Linked DNA regions of Homo sapiens: all the other regions are linked to region 1. The links are contacts of gene promoters, found by promoter capture Hi-C in human tissues and cell types (Jung and others, 2019). All regions are on one chromosome and are shown on one strand. Each heading gives the region's core, a stretch centred on a gene start or on the middle of the fragment in contact. The rest is flanking DNA. Distances are from core to core; before and after follow the strand shown. Region 1 holds the start of PIEZO1 (piezo type mechanosensitive ion channel component 1 (Er blood group)). Region 2 overlaps ZC3H18 (zinc finger CCCH-type containing 18). Region 3 overlaps ZC3H18 (zinc finger CCCH-type containing 18). Region 4 holds the start of IL17C (interleukin 17C).

What was found. The method cuts DNA at HindIII sites, captures the fragments that hold promoters and counts their contacts. A contact is called where the count stands out against the background at its distance.
Region 2: a fragment that was not itself captured here is called in contact with the fragment with the promoter of PIEZO1 in region 1 in 1 of the 25 tissues and cell types used here (lymphoblastoid cells).
Region 3: a fragment that was not itself captured here is called in contact with the fragment with the promoter of PIEZO1 in region 1 in 3 of the 25 tissues and cell types used here (lymphoblastoid cells, spleen and thymus).
Region 4: a contact is called between the fragment with the promoter of IL17C here and the fragment with the promoter of PIEZO1 in region 1, in 5 of the 25 tissues and cell types used here (liver, lymphoblastoid cells, mesenchymal stem cells and 2 more).

The regions. Positions count from the first base shown.
Region 1 is chr16:88,783,153-88,786,740 of GRCh38, forward strand. It overlaps PIEZO1 (piezo type mechanosensitive ion channel component 1 (Er blood group)), which reads right to left and starts at 2,068. Exons shown (of 51, transcript NM_001142864.4): 1 at 1,749-2,068. The coding sequence starts at 1,812. RefSeq lists silencers at 897-1,216, 1,717-2,196, 2,237-2,566 and an enhancer at 1,299-2,212. The HindIII fragment of the contact is 3,328 bases long and covers 1-2,261 here.
Region 2 is chr16:88,588,353-88,591,940 of GRCh38, forward strand. All of the region lies in intron 3 of ZC3H18 (zinc finger CCCH-type containing 18), which reads left to right. Among named protein-coding and RNA genes, the nearest start is that of ZC3H18, 20 kb to the left of the region's middle. RefSeq lists enhancers at 1,169-1,463, 3,359-3,588. The HindIII fragment of the contact is 7,017 bases long and covers 1-3,588 here.
Region 3 is chr16:88,618,626-88,622,213 of GRCh38, forward strand. It overlaps ZC3H18 (zinc finger CCCH-type containing 18), which reads left to right. Exons shown (of 18, transcript NM_144604.4): 9 at 3,572-3,588. Among named protein-coding and RNA genes, the nearest start is that of IL17C, 18 kb to the right of the region's middle. The HindIII fragment of the contact is 5,227 bases long and covers 1-3,588 here.
Region 4 is chr16:88,636,862-88,640,449 of GRCh38, forward strand. It overlaps IL17C (interleukin 17C), which reads left to right and starts at 1,711. Exons shown (of 3, transcript NM_013278.4): 1 at 1,711-1,786; 2 at 2,120-2,448; 3 at 2,953-3,588. The coding sequence starts at 1,781. The coding sequence ends at 3,211. LOC124903755 (a long non-coding RNA gene) reads left to right here. Exons shown (of 2, transcript XR_007065181.1): 2 at 1-573. The HindIII fragment of the contact is 16,303 bases long and covers 1-3,588 here.

The sequences.
Region 1 (3,588 bases), core at 818-3,317:
GCAAGAAGAACAGTGATCCCTCCCCCAGATCCCCCACGCGGATAGCAATCGAGAAGGCAGAACCCAGGCCCCCTGACCAATGCCCAGGGGGCAGCAAACCACATGTGCCACAGAATCGGGCTCAACACCTGTTTAGGTACAGCCCATGAACTCAGGAGGGCTTTTACATTTAATGGCTGGAAAAATACCAGAAGAAGAAGATTTTGTGACATGAAAATATTTACCATCTGGTCATTTAAAGAAAAACATTGCCAACTCTGCCCAAGGAGCAGCTGCCATCTGAGAGGGGGGGCATTCCCTGCAGGGAGGACACCCGCTCCCACTCAGACACAAGAGGAAATGGAACGATCAGTGTGAACGGGACGTTTCAGAAGCTTTCCTGTTTCCCTCTCTAAGGCCTGTCAGCTCTAGACTCTGCCTCTGTGCCAGGCTGTCCTGCTTGTTTTCAAGGCACAGGAAGGAACACAGCCGGGCCCTGTTTACGGCCCATCTGACCCTGCACTGGGAGCAGGTCCCAGGCTGCCCAGTCCACACAGGGCTGACCGCACTGAAGAGAGTTGCTCAAAACCTCTCCTCTCCAGCCTCAATGGTTTTCATTGATTCCTGTCTAGAAAATCTTCCCCAAGTTTCACCACCTTTCTGTGCGACCGATCAAAACGCAGTCTGTCTGGGAGCCTCAGGCAGGCGGCTCTAGATCCCCAAAGCTAGCGCTGGGCGAGCTCCCACCTGGAGCGAGGCAAGGGCTCCGAAAGGGCTTTTACAATCAAAAGGCCCCACCTGCCGTGTCCATGGCGGACTCCCAATGCAAACCGTCCCACTTGTCCGTGGGTTAATTCCATCCGACTGCTTCCCAGATCAATCACACGTGGGGAGCCCCCGGGCGGAGGGCGCGGACCCTGGGTCCCGGCTAGGCCAGGGTCGGGGAAGGGTAGGGGTGCCAGGCCGTGCAGCACCAAGCCACCCGGGTGTGCTTCGCGAAAGGGGCACCACTGCCCGGCAAGCAGGGAACACAGATGCCAGGACTGGGGACCCCTGCCCCGCCCTGACACCAGGCCACAGCCTCCGGGGGTGTCCCCTCCCCCAGACCAGGGCAGAGGCCGGCCCCCGCCCCTGCGAAACTGAGCCCAGTAGGGCAAGGGAGGACCAGGGAGGAACCCACACTATTTTTTTCCAAAGTGTGGGACCGCCTCAGTCCGGCAGAGGGGGGTGCAGCGGTGAGCGGGGCTGGGCCCTGGGCACGGACGTTCGTTGGGCTCGGGAAGCTCCAAATTAAACAGCTCCAGGCAGGAAGCCCGCCTTCTCCCAGATTGTCAGGAAGTCCTGATGCAACTTTGCGCTTTTTTTTTTAAACCCGAAAGAGAAAAAGAGATTCGTGCTCCCCCCACCACCGCCGCGGCCCTTCCCACCGGGGCAAACACCGCCTCGCCCGGCGGCCTCCTCTCCGCAGCGCCCCGGCGGAGACGCCAGCCGCGCTATGCCCGGCGCTCGCTCGACCGCCCCCGTGGGCACGCGGTGCCGTCTCCCCCAGCCGCCGCCGCCCTTCCAGCCCGGCCCTGGGACAGGAGCCCCGCCGCCGCCTGGCGCGCTCATGCTTCAGGAATGCGGGCGCCCGGGTCGCGCGTCCCTGGGAATTTCCGCGCCCGCTCGCCCGCAGCCCTCGCCCCGGCCGGCGTCGTCCGGTGTCCAGGCCGTGGGGAGCCGAGACGCAGCCCCCTCCCGTCGCCCCCAGGCGCCCGCCCCCCACTCACCAGCCAGCAGCGCGCAGGGCAGCAGCAGCCAGTACAGGACCGCGCCGAGCACGTGCGGCTCCATGGCTGGAGGGCCCAGGGCCCGGCCCAGACCGAGCGGACGCCGCGGCGCTATGGGGCGGTGCGGGGGCCCCGGGGCCGGCGCGCCATGGCTGACCCGCGGGGACCCGCGCGCCGCCTTCTCCTCTTCCTCCTTCTCCTTCGGCCGCCCCGCCGGTGCCGACGTCCCGGGCCCGCGCTCGCTCAGGCGACCGCCCTGCCCCTCGGCGGAGCGCAGCGCTCGGCTCACTGGGGCCGAGCTGGGCCGGACGGCGGCTCCCGCCCTCCTCCGCCCGCGGGCCTTTATAAGCTCGGCCCCCTCCCGCCCTCCCCGGCGTGCCCGCCTCCGCGCTTCCCCGACGGCCCGGCGCGCCCAGGCACCCCCTCCGCTGTCCCGCGCGGCCCGTCCCGCCTCCGGCCCGCCCTGGTGCGTTGGGGCCTGGAGACCCCCGACTGGCGCTGGCCCGGAGCGGACCCCTCCCCTCCCGCAGTCTTGGCCCCGCGGCTCCGAGCGTGCGCGGCGGTGGGCAGGGGCGCTTCTCGCTGGGTGGGCTGCGGCTGGGGCCCGGGCGCTACATAAGGGGTCCCGGGGCCTCTGGCTCCCCCAGGCAGCGCCCCACGCGCAACTGCACCCCGCGTGCCCGAGCGACTTTCGCTTTGCTCCCCGAGGCGCGAGCACGCAGCGCCCCCTGGGGACCGTGGGGAGGCTCGGAGTTCCCGCGGCGGCCGGGCCTAGTGGTCCCGGAGGGAGCACGCGGGATGCTCGGGTCGCAGCAGTGCCGCGATCCGCGTTGGTCTGACGGGGGCTCGGGGGCTGCTCCCAGCCACGCCGGCCACCGCGCGCGGCTTTGCCCGGGTCGCTCTGGCGTGAGACGGTGAGAGTGAGAGCCACGGCCTGTGCACCTGCTGCCGCGGCGCCCTGCCACGGAGAGGTAGGGTCTGAGTCCAGGGTGTTCGGGACCCTCACCCAGGCCACGTCAGTTTGGCCTTCGTCTGCCCTTGAGATGGGCACAGAAAGAGGGCAAAGGGCTCTACACCGTTTAATTGGGCTCAGTTCATGGCTCTCAAACTCAGCTGCGTAAGGCAGGGAGTGGGGCTGGGGGGACTGTGGCCACTGAGCCTCAAGGCACTGGCAACTCATGAGAGCCCAGCACAAGCCCACACCCTCCAGCTCAAAAAAAAAAAAAAAAAAAAAAGATGGCGGGGCAGTGGCTCAGGCCTGTAATCCCAGCACTTTGCGGGGCTGAGGCAAGGGGGTAGGGGGTCGGGGGATCACTTGACGTCAGGAGTTCGAGACCAGCCTGGCCAACATGGTGAAACCCCGTCTCTACTAAAAATACAAAAATTAGGCCGGGCGCGGTGGCTCACGCCTGTAATCCCAGCACTTTGGGAGGCCGAGGCGGGTGGATCACCAGGTCAGGAGATCGAGACCATCCTGGCTAACACGGTGAAAACCCATCTCTACTAAAAACATAAAAAATTAGCCGGGCGTGGTGGCGGGCTCCTGTAGTCCCAACTACTCGGGAGGCTGAGGCAGGAGAATGGCATCAACCCAGGAGGCGGAGCTTGCAGTGAGCCGAGATAGCGCCACTGCACTCCAGCCTGGGCGACAGAGCCAGACTCCGTCTCAATAAATAAATAAATAAATAAATAAATAAATAAATAAATATACAAAAATTAGCCGGGCGTGATGGCAGGCGCCTGTATTCCCAACTACTCAGGAGGCCGAGGCAGGAAAATCGCTTGAACCTGGGAGGCAGAGGTTGCCGTGAGCCGAGATCATGCCATTGCACTCCAGCCT
Region 2 (3,588 bases), core at 761-3,260, 190 kb before region 1:
CGTTGGCCTGATGGTTCCAACTGCAGGAGGCTGCAGCATCCACCAGGGCAGGGAGACTCTGGACCAGGAGCCCAGGGCTCACTGCTGAGCTAATTCCAGAATTTAACAACAGAAGCACAAAACAGACAGAGAGATGGTTACTGGAACTCTTCATTCCCTTCATTGGGAGATGCCTGGATGAACACAGACAGGATCCTGTCTCCTTGCACATCACGTGGGTTGGTCAGAATTGGAAGGTGGTGCCCCCAAAGTTAGACTAAGTACTGAGTTTGGGTTTCAGCAAGTGAGACCATGTGGAAGGGTTTCTACAGTCAAGAAAGGAGTTTGAGACCAGCCTGGGCAACATAGTGAGACCTTGTCTCTACAAAAAATGAAAACTTAGCAGGGTTTGGTGGCACGCATGTGTAGTCCCAGCTACGTGGGGGGTGGGGGCTGACAGGGGCAGATCACTTGAGCCTGGGAAGTTGAGGCTGCAGTTGTGCCATGATCGTGCCACTGTACTCCAGCCTGGGCGACAGTGAGACTCAGTCTCTTGAAAAAAAAAAAGTCAGAAGCTAGATAAGGCAGCATTTTTGCGGCTTAATCAGGTGTTATCAATAACTCATTTCAGAAGTGTTTTTATTCTGTAGAGTGAGGTGATACGGTACAGAGGAAGTGGCTGATTCTTACCGTTTTCTAGATCATGTCTTCTGCTGCTGCTTTGTTATGAGAAATTTGGACTTAAATGTTTCTGCCTACCTGCAGTTTATATGAAATTGAAATTCTTCAGTTTATGATCTCTCCAATAACAACAAGTTATTTTAAAAACAAAATGAAGTTTGTTGTGTTGGCAAGGATATGGAGATGTTGGAGCCCTCATTCACTGCTCGTGAGAGGGTAAAACGGTGCAGCTGCTTTAGGAAACAGTTCCTCAGAAGCTCCCGGGTACCCACTGTATGACCCAGCAGTTCCACTGCAGGTATGCAGCCAAGAGAAACGGACGTGTGCATTTATGTGAAAGCTTGTGCATTAATGTTCACAGCAGCATAATTTCCAGTAACCAAAGAGAAACAACCCAGGTACCCAAAAAGTGAGGAATGGATAAACAAGTGTGGCCTGTCCATGCAGTGGAATGCTACTTGGCCATAAAGGGAATGAAGCACTGGCTCATGCCACAATGTGGACAAACTTTGAAGACGTGCTGAGTGACAGAAGGGAGCACAGAAGGCCACAGGTCCACAGAGACAGAAAGCAGATTGTGACTCACGCCGCAACGTGGACGAGCCTTGAAGACGTGCTGAGTGACAGAAGGGAGCACGGAAGGCCACAGATCCACAGAGACAGAAAGTAGATTGTGACTCATGCCACAATGTGGACGAGCCTTAAAGACGTGCTGAGTGACAGAAGGGAGCACAGAAGGCCACAGATCCACAGAGACGGAAAGTAGATTGATTCCTCGTTGCCTGGACTGGGGGTGGAGAGTGATAGCTAGTGAGTACAGGATTTCCTCTTTGGGGTGATGGAATGTTCTAGAACTAGCTAGTGGTGATGCTTACACAACTTTGTGAATATACTGCAAACCAGTGAATTGTACACATTAAATGGGAGTATTTTATGTTATGTGAATTGTGTCACAATTAGAAAATTCTTTTCTTAGAAAAAAGTCGGTGGCTGGGCATGGTAGCTCATACCTGGAATCCTAGCACTTTGGGAAGCTGAATGGGGAGGATCACTTGAGCCCAGGAGTTAGAGACCAGCCTGGGCAACATTGCAAGAGCTCATCTTTCTTTTTTAAATTACTTGTAGAGATGGGATCTCACTATATTGCTCAGGCTGGTCTCAAATACTAGGCTCAAGCAATCCTTCCACCTCAGCCTCCCAGAGTATGGGGATGACAGGCATGAGCCACTGCTCAGGCCTCTCTTAGCTTTATCTCCGACACGTTGTGATATAGAGATTAATCATTTAATCGCTTAGTGGACACATTGAGATTTGTGACCAAATGACAGCAAAATGCACTGGGAACACACCTTGCTCACATTTTAGAGATCAGTGCTTTGTGTACGCCTGCCCGGCTCCACAGCACATACACTACAACTGGAGCTGTACTTCTTCATGGGATGTTTTTATCTCTCGTGGGCCTGTGTTGGATCATCAGGACACAAAGTTCTGTCCACAGAGGAGTAAGTAGCATCTTCTTTAAACTGTGTCCCACTTTGGGTTTCTTTATTTCTTTTTTTTTTTTTTTTGAGACAGTGTCTCGCTCTGTCACCCGGGCTGGAGTGCAATGGTGAGATCTCGGCTCGTTGGAACCTCCACCTGGGTTCAAGCTATTCTTCTGTCTCAGACTCCCGAGTAGCTGCGATTACAGGCATCTGCCACCACCCCCAACTCATTTTTGTATTTTTAGCAGACATGGGGTTTCATCATGTTGGCCAGGCTGGTCTCGAACCCCTGACCTCAGGTGATCCGCTCACCTCAGCCTCCCAGAGTGCTGGGATTACAGGTGTGAGCCACCACACCCGGCCCCTACTTTGGGCTTCTGATTTATCCCTCAGTGAACAAGCATCCCAGTCCATTTTTTGGGTCTGATCTCCTTGGCTGTGCTCCCCCTAATTTTTTAAAATTGTGGTGGAATACTTTTTTTTTTTTTTTTTGAGATGGAGTCTTGCTCTGTCACCCAGGCTGGAGTGCAGTGGCACCATCTCGGCTCACTGCAAGCTCTGCCTCCTGGGTTCACGCCATTCTCCTGCCTCAGCCTCCTGAGTAGTTGGAACTACAGGCGCCCGCCACCACGCCCAGGTAATTTTTGTAGTTTTTGGTAGAGACGGAGTTTCACTGTGTTAGCCAGGATGGTCCCGATCTCCTGACCTCGTGATCTGCCCTCCTCGGCCTCCCAAAGTGCTGGGATTACAGGCGTGAGTCACTGCACCTGGCCTTCTGTCTTTTTAAGACTGAATAATAGGTGCGGTGGCTGATGCCTGTAATCATAGCACTTTGGGAGGCCGAGGTGGGTGGATCACTCAAGGTTAGGAGTTCGAGACCAGACTGCTCAACATGGTGAAACCCTGTCTCTACTAAAAATACAAAATTAGCTGGGGGTGGTAGAGCACACCTCTAATTCCAGCTATTTGGGAGGCCAAAGCAGGAGAATCGCTTGAACCCAGTAGGTGGAGGTTGCAGTGAGCCAAGATCACACCACTGCACTCCAGCCTGGGCAACAGAACGAGACTCCGTCTCCAAAAAAAAAAAAAAAGATTGACCAATATTTGTTAGTGTGGAGCAGCTGCATTGGGTGTTTCCCTCATCTGTGGGTGGACACTTGGGTGGTTTCCACCTCTAGGCAATTGTGAATAGAGCTGCTGTGAACGTGGGCGTAAAAATCTCTTCAGACCCTGCTTTCAGCTCTTTCGCATGTGCCTGGCAGTGGAGTTGCTGATGACCTGGTGGTTGTGTGTTTCATCTTTTGTGGAACTGCTGGCAGCGGAGTTTCTGATGACGTGGTGGTTGTGTGTTTCATCTTTTGAGGAACCGCTGGCAGTGGAGTTGCTGATGACCTGGTGGTTGTGTGTTTCATCTTTTGAGGAACCGCTGGCAGCGGAGTTTCTG
Region 3 (3,588 bases), core at 386-2,885, 160 kb before region 1:
GGTTTTGTCTGCCTCTGGCATGTTTGCATTGGTGGTGGAGCTGACCTTTGCCCCTTAGAGAGTCTCCTGTGGCCTTCAACGGGGAATGGGGGCCAGATGATAGCGCGGGCCTTGTGCTGCGGGAAAGGCTACTTCCTCAGTCAGAGGTCATCTGGAGGGTTCTCCCCTGCGGTTGGAAGTGTTCATGCAAATTCCAGATCTGTCCTGGCCCAGCTTGGAGGTGGGCCTTCCTGACTGGGCCATCCCTTGCGAGCGTTCTCAGCCCACACTGGCTCCCTCTGCGCAGGCCCCTACTTGTGAAGGAGCTGAGCCGCACTCGGTGGGCTGTCCTGGGGCACCCATGTTGTGTGTTTTGGTTTTGTTTATTTTGTATCTGCCTGGTTTTTCCAAGTCTAATCAGGATGTCCCCTGGGGTGACATTCTTTGCTGAGAGAAGGGCACATGCCTCGGTTCCCTGGGCTGTAGAAAGCCAGTGCTCAGCCTTGCTTTCTGCCGCAGACTTGGTGCCCGGAGACTCGCTATCAAAGTGCAGTGGAGATAATGTCCAATGGGAGGCTGAGGCAGGAGAATGGCATGAGGCAGAGCTTGCAGTGAGCCAAGATCGCACCACCGTACTCCAGCCTGGGCAACAGAGCGAGGCTCTGTCTCAAAAAAAAGAAAAAAGGAAAAAAATGGTTATCTGCATCCTGGTTAAAATCAGTACCACCACGTCCCACACGTGGTAACATGGACTTGCTGGATAGGACCTCCTTGCTCCATGGGCCTGGAAGCAGCTGCTTCAGAAGGAAGGTGGTGCGGCCGGCGGCAGCGGAGGGCGCGCTGTGCAGTGACGAGATGGTGCAGGCCCGTCCACAGCCCTGGCCCAGAGAAGGAGAGACCTCACTGACCCCTGCTGGGCCTGCCTCTGGCCATCTTCATTTTGAAATTCGGTATCATTGTCTCCAGAGGGAATGAGCAGCTCTTTCTGGGGGGCAAGCACCAGCTGCCCTGAGATTGTGGAGGCCTGCACTGCCCGCCTCTCTGGACCTCAGCTGGTTTTATTTCCATGCCGTGGCAGGGGGCAAGCAGACGCTGTTTTTCCTTCCCCCTCACCGCAGCTAGGACTCCACATGCTGTTACAGCTTCACCCGAAGAAGAGGTGGTCCTGACCACGCCTTGACTTCTGCCCGTTCCCTCTCCCTGTGTTGGAAGGGCCGCGCTGTCCCTGTGACTTATTGGTGCTCCCTTTCCTCTTGGGGTGTTAGGATGAGAGTTATACAGGAAGTATAAAGGTGAAAGTAGCTCTCTAGTAGCCTGTGACAGGGAGGATCATCAGACAGGTGTTTACTTCCTTCCTGGATTACTTTTCCAGGAGACACCCAGATGTGGCAATAGCTCTTGGGGTTTTGGGCTGACGTACAGGAGCTGAAGCTGTGATGTCGCGTGTCCGTGTCCTTAGGACAGTGTTAAGTGGGGAGCTGCCCCCATCCTGCATTCTCAGCAGATAGCAGGCATGTTTGCCAGCCGGTTGGTTAAACAAGCTCTGAAAACATAAACATTGATGGTTTTGGTGGTTTCATGTGTTGTCGTGTGACGTAAGCAGATGCTACCACAGCAGAGCCAGAGGTGAGCAAGACGTAGGGCAGAGAATCCCACTCACAGTAACACAGGAACTAAAACAGCTTTTTAAAATGTGTTTGCAGGCCAGGCATGGCGGCTCAAGCTTATAACCCCAGCACTCTGGGAGGCCAGGGTGGGAGGATCACTTGAGGCCAGAAATTCGAGACCAGCCTGGGCAACATAGGGAGACCTCAAATCAATGTTTAATGACCTGGGTGTGGTGGTGCACACCTGCAGTCCTGGCTACTCAAGAGGCTGAGGTGGGAGGATCCCTTCAGCCTGGAAGCTCAAGGCTGCAGTGATTATGCCACCACACTCCAGCCCACATGGGTAACAGAGCAAGACCCTGTCTCTAAAAAAGAAAAAAAAAAAAAAAGCCACGTTCTGCTTATACAATTGCCAGGATTTTGGGTTAGTTTGTGTCTGGGTGGTGGTTGTGGTTCTTAGTGGTGACACCGAGCCCAGGTTCGGCACCGCACACTGCTGGCTGAATGAGGAAAAAATATCTGATAACCCACCAAGAACCTGTAAAATGTGTATCTCCTTTGACCCATTAATTCCATTGCTCAGGAGTTTACCCTTTAAAAAGTCAGATAAAGATTTATATATAAGGGGTCAGTTTAATATCATTTGTGTTTGGGTTTTTTTGTTTGTTTTTTATAATGGAGTCTCACTCTGTTGCCCAGTTTGGAGTGCAGTGGCGCAGTCTCAGCTCACTGCAATCTCTGCCTCCTGGGTTCAAACCATTCTCCTGCCCTCAGGCTCCCCAGTAGCTGGGATTACAGGCACGTGTTACCACACCCAGCTAATTTTTTTGTTTTTTGTTTTGTTTTGTTTTGAGACGAAGTCTTGCTCTGTCGCCCAGATTGGAGGGCAGTGGCGCAGTCTCAGCTCACTACAACCTCCGCCTCCCAGTTTCAAGCAATTCTCCTGCCTCAGCTTCCCAAGTAGCTGGGATTACAGGCGCCCGCCACCACATCCAACTAATTTTTGTTTTTGTTTTTATTTTTTTTTTTTTGAGACAGAGTCTCGCTCTGTCGCCCAGGCTGGAGTGCAATGGCGCGATCTCGGCTCACTGCAAGCTCCACCTCCCGGGTTCACGCCATTCTTCTGCCTCAGCCCCCCAAGTAGCTGGGACTACAGGCGCCTGCCACCACGCCTGGCTAATTTTATATATTTTTAGTAGAGATGGGGTTTCACCATGTTAGCCAGGATGGTCTCGATCTCTTGACCTCGTGATTCGCCCGCCTCGGCCTCCCAAAGTGCTGGGATTACAGGTGAGCCACCGCAGCCGGCCTAATTTTTGTATTCTTAGTAGACATGGAGTTTCACCATGTTGGCCAGGCTGGTCTCGAACTCCTGACCTCATGATCCGCCCACCTCAGCCTCCCAAAGTGCTGGGATTACAGGCATGAGCCATCGCGCCCAGCCTAATTTTTGTATTTTTAATAGAGACAGGTTTCACCATATTGGCCAGGCTGATCTGGAACTCCCGACCTCAAGTAATCCACCCGCCTCGTCCTCGCAAAGTGCTGGGATTGCAGGCGTGTGCCACCATACCTGGGCTTATTTCATAAATATTTATTATGAACCTACTAGTATATCAGCACTAGAGATAGTATTAGACACGGCAGACACCATCCCTGTCCCTCCTAGAGCTGACAGCGTAGTTGGAAAGATGGAAATTAAGTAAGTAATGACACTCACAGAAAGTAACTGCCATTCTGGTTCAGGAGAAATCTGGGTGTTCCCCTGAGTAACAGACACTGAGCCAAGGGCCATGGACATCACCCAAGTCCATGGGGTGATGGGTTTTGTGAGTGGCCTTTTTTCCCCTTAGGACCCTTTGTTTCTCAGGTGATCCTTAAATAAGCCAGGTATGAGATCCATAGTCTCTCCCGCTGCTGTCACACCTGGCATTGCTGTGAAGCGGAAGGTGGCCTGAGAGTTGCTAATGCCTCTGTAATTTCAGCCGCCAAGCTGAGCCAC
Region 4 (3,588 bases), core at 461-2,960, 150 kb before region 1:
CCACACAGCGGCCAAGAGGAGGTGCTGGAGGGCCCAGGGGTCCCAGTGCTGCCTCAGCCCCACCCGACTTGGGAGCTTTTGTGTTCAGAGAGACTGAGGTTTTCAGCTTAGAGGACACCTCCGTGGAACACATCTGCACCGCGGCAGGGGAGGAAAGGCTGGGGGCACACAAGCACCCTCCCTCCCGCCCTCACCCCGAAGCTGAGGGGACCAGGGCGGACAGATTCCCCCACCTCTGATGTGGCCAGGGGCCCTGGGGACTCCAGGACAACCCTCCTCAGGATGACGTCAAACCCCCGGCATTCAAACCTTCCCAAGTTCTGGCTGCAGCTGTCCCTTTCCGGGGAAACAAAGGCACCTCCAGCGCCCCCACCCCCAGCCAGCCTCACCGATCAAGGAGGCCAAAGGCAGCTCCCGGCCCCGCTTACATAAAGCTTCCTGTGTGTGCTGGTCACACCTCACACCTCACGCCTCACGCCTCATGCCTCATTCACACCTCACACCTCACTCCTCACACCTCCAACTCAGACTTTTTAGCTTGAACTTTTTTCTCAATAAAACCACAGAAGCCCAGGCCGGGTGCAGTGACTCATGCCTGTGATCCCAGCACTTTGCGAGGCCGAGGTGGGCAGATCACGAGGTCAGGAGATCGAGACCATCCTGGCTAACATGGTGAAACCCCGTCTCTACTAAAAATACAAAAAAATTAGCCAGGTGTGGTGGCGGGCGCCTGTAGTCCCAGCTACCCGGCAGGCTGAGGCAGGAGAATGGCGTGAACCCAGGAAGCTGAGCTTGTAGTGAGCCGAGATCGCACCACTGTACTCCCCGCCTGGGCGACAGAGTCAGACTCCGCCTCAAAAAAACAACAAAAAAAAAAACAACACAGAAACCCAACAGAGACCTGAAGACGTGCCTGCCTCCCCCATCTCCGGGACCTCTCCCACCTGGGTGAAGGGGGCACGTGAGCCTCACCTGATCTTGACCATCTCAGCTAAAACACTGAACCACCCTTGGCACCCACCAGCAGCAGACGGAGAAGAACTGTATAGGGTGCAAAAGCGCCCCGCCACCATCAGGTCCAGATGAAAACCTACAAGTTGAATCAGCAAGGTGCTGACGGATACGCAAGCAGAAACCCTCTTATAGGAGGTTCAAGGCTGGGCGCAGTGGCTCACTCCTGTAATCCCAGCACTTTGGGAGGCCAAGGCGAGCAGATCACTTGAGGTCAGGAGCCTCAGACCAGCCTGGCCGATATGGCAAAACCCTGTCTGTACTAAAAATACAAAAATTAGCCAGGCATGGTGGGGGGTGCCTGTAATCCCAGCTACTCGGAAGCCTGAGGCAGGAGAATCGCTTGAACCTGGGATGTGGAGGTTGCAGTGAGCTGGGACAGCACCATTTCCCTCCAGCTCGGGTGACAGCAAGACCCTGTCTCAAAAAAAAAAAAAAAGTTTGAGAATGTCAGACAAGGCAGCACCCTGTGTAGGTGCTCAGGTTGGGCGGAGTCTCTCTCGGGGGAGGGGGGTAACAGGACAGCGCCTCCCGGGGCCTCCTTGCATGTCTGTGTCCTGATGCACAGCAGGCGGGGGCTGCGGGGACCAGAGAAGGAAGAAGCGCCCCAGCTGGGCACTTCCCGAGGAGGAAGTGGTGCCGGAATTTCCCCCAGGTGTGGCCTCAGGTATAAGAGCGGCTGCTGCCAGGTGCATGGCCAGGTGCACCTGTGGGATTGCCGCCAGGTGTGCAGGCCGCTCCAAGCCCAGCCTGCCCCGCTGCCGCCACCATGACGGTGAGCCTCTCCACATGCCGCTCGGATGGATGCTGCTTGGATGTGCAGCCTGGCATGGAAGGGCTGGGGTTCTCTGAGCCTGGGAGGAGGGTGTTGGGATGGGGTCTGGGAAACCCCTCAGTCTGGGGGTAGGGGAGGCAGCTGCAGATCCTCGGAGCGCTGGCATGCTGGGTGTCTTGGGCTGAAGGGCTAGCCTCTCTGGGCTTCAGTTTCCCCATCTATAGAGGGAGGGCTGTACTCCATCTTTCCGCTGGGAACAAGGAAAGCTGAGGTGGAAGTGAGGTGCCCCCTGCCCTGGGCACCTCCTAACCACCCACCTGCCTGTTTCACCAGCTCCTCCCCGGCCTCCTGTTTCTGACCTGGCTGCACACATGCCTGGCCCACCATGACCCCTCCCTCAGGGGGCACCCCCACAGTCACGGTACCCCACACTGCTACTCGGCTGAGGAACTGCCCCTCGGCCAGGCCCCCCCACACCTGCTGGCTCGAGGTGCCAAGTGGGGGCAGGCTTTGCCTGTAGCCCTGGTGTCCAGCCTGGAGGCAGCAAGCCACAGGGGGAGGCACGAGAGGCCCTCAGCTACGACCCAGTGCCCGGTGCTGCGGCCGGAGGAGGTGTTGGAGGCAGACACCCACCAGCGCTCCATCTCACCCTGGAGATACCGGTGAGGACCTGGGGATTCCGCTGTGGCGTGGGGCTGCCCCTCCCCTGGCGGGGCCCTGACTGCCCGGAGAGCTCTCTGGGCCTTGGTGGTTCTCACCTGTCAAGTGGGCGTGGCCACCTGAGCTCCCTCCCTCCGGCCCTCCTGACCTGGACGGCTGAGCTGCTGCTTGCGGCTGGCCGTGCCCTGCCTCCCACTGTCCTAGGTGGCCAGGGTCCCCTGGGGAAATTCTGGGCCCGTCACCTGAGCTCCTGCAGAAGTGGGGCTGGGTGATGAAGTGGAAGGGAGGCTCCTAGAGGCCTCCGGACCCTGCTCTGTGCTCTTGGAGGGCCCTGGGGAGACGTGGATTACCACCACATGTGAGCCCGACTGCACCCCAAGCCCGTGTGGCTCAGCCCTCGCTGCCTCAGGTCCTATCCTGAGTACACGGAGAGGGGCCCTGAGGGGAGAGGGGCCTCCAGGAGGACAGGGTAGGGCCAGAGACTCACTGTGCACCCCGTCCCGCAGTGTGGACACGGATGAGGACCGCTATCCACAGAAGCTGGCCTTCGCCGAGTGCCTGTGCAGAGGCTGTATCGATGCACGGACGGGCCGCGAGACAGCTGCGCTCAACTCCGTGCGGCTGCTCCAGAGCCTGCTGGTGCTGCGCCGCCGGCCCTGCTCCCGCGACGGCTCGGGGCTCCCCACACCTGGGGCCTTTGCCTTCCACACCGAGTTCATCCACGTCCCCGTCGGCTGCACCTGCGTGCTGCCCCGTTCAGTGTGACCGCCGAGGCCGTGGGGCCCCTAGACTGGACACGTGTGCTCCCCAGAGGGCACCCCCTATTTATGTGTATTTATTGTTATTTATATGCCTCCCCCAACACTACCCTTGGGGTCTGGGCATTCCCCGTGTCTGGAGGACAGCCCCCCACTGTTCTCCTCATCTCCAGCCTCAGTAGTTGGGGGTAGAAGGAGCTCAGCACCTCTTCCAGCCCTTAAAGCTGCAGAAAAGGTGTCACACGGCTGCCTGTACCTTGGCTCCCTGTCCTGCTCCCGGCTTCCCTTACCCTATCACTGGCCTCAGGCCCCCGCAGGCTGCCTCTTCCCAACCTCCTTGGAAGTACCCCTGTTTCTTAAACAATTATTTAAGTGTACGTGTAT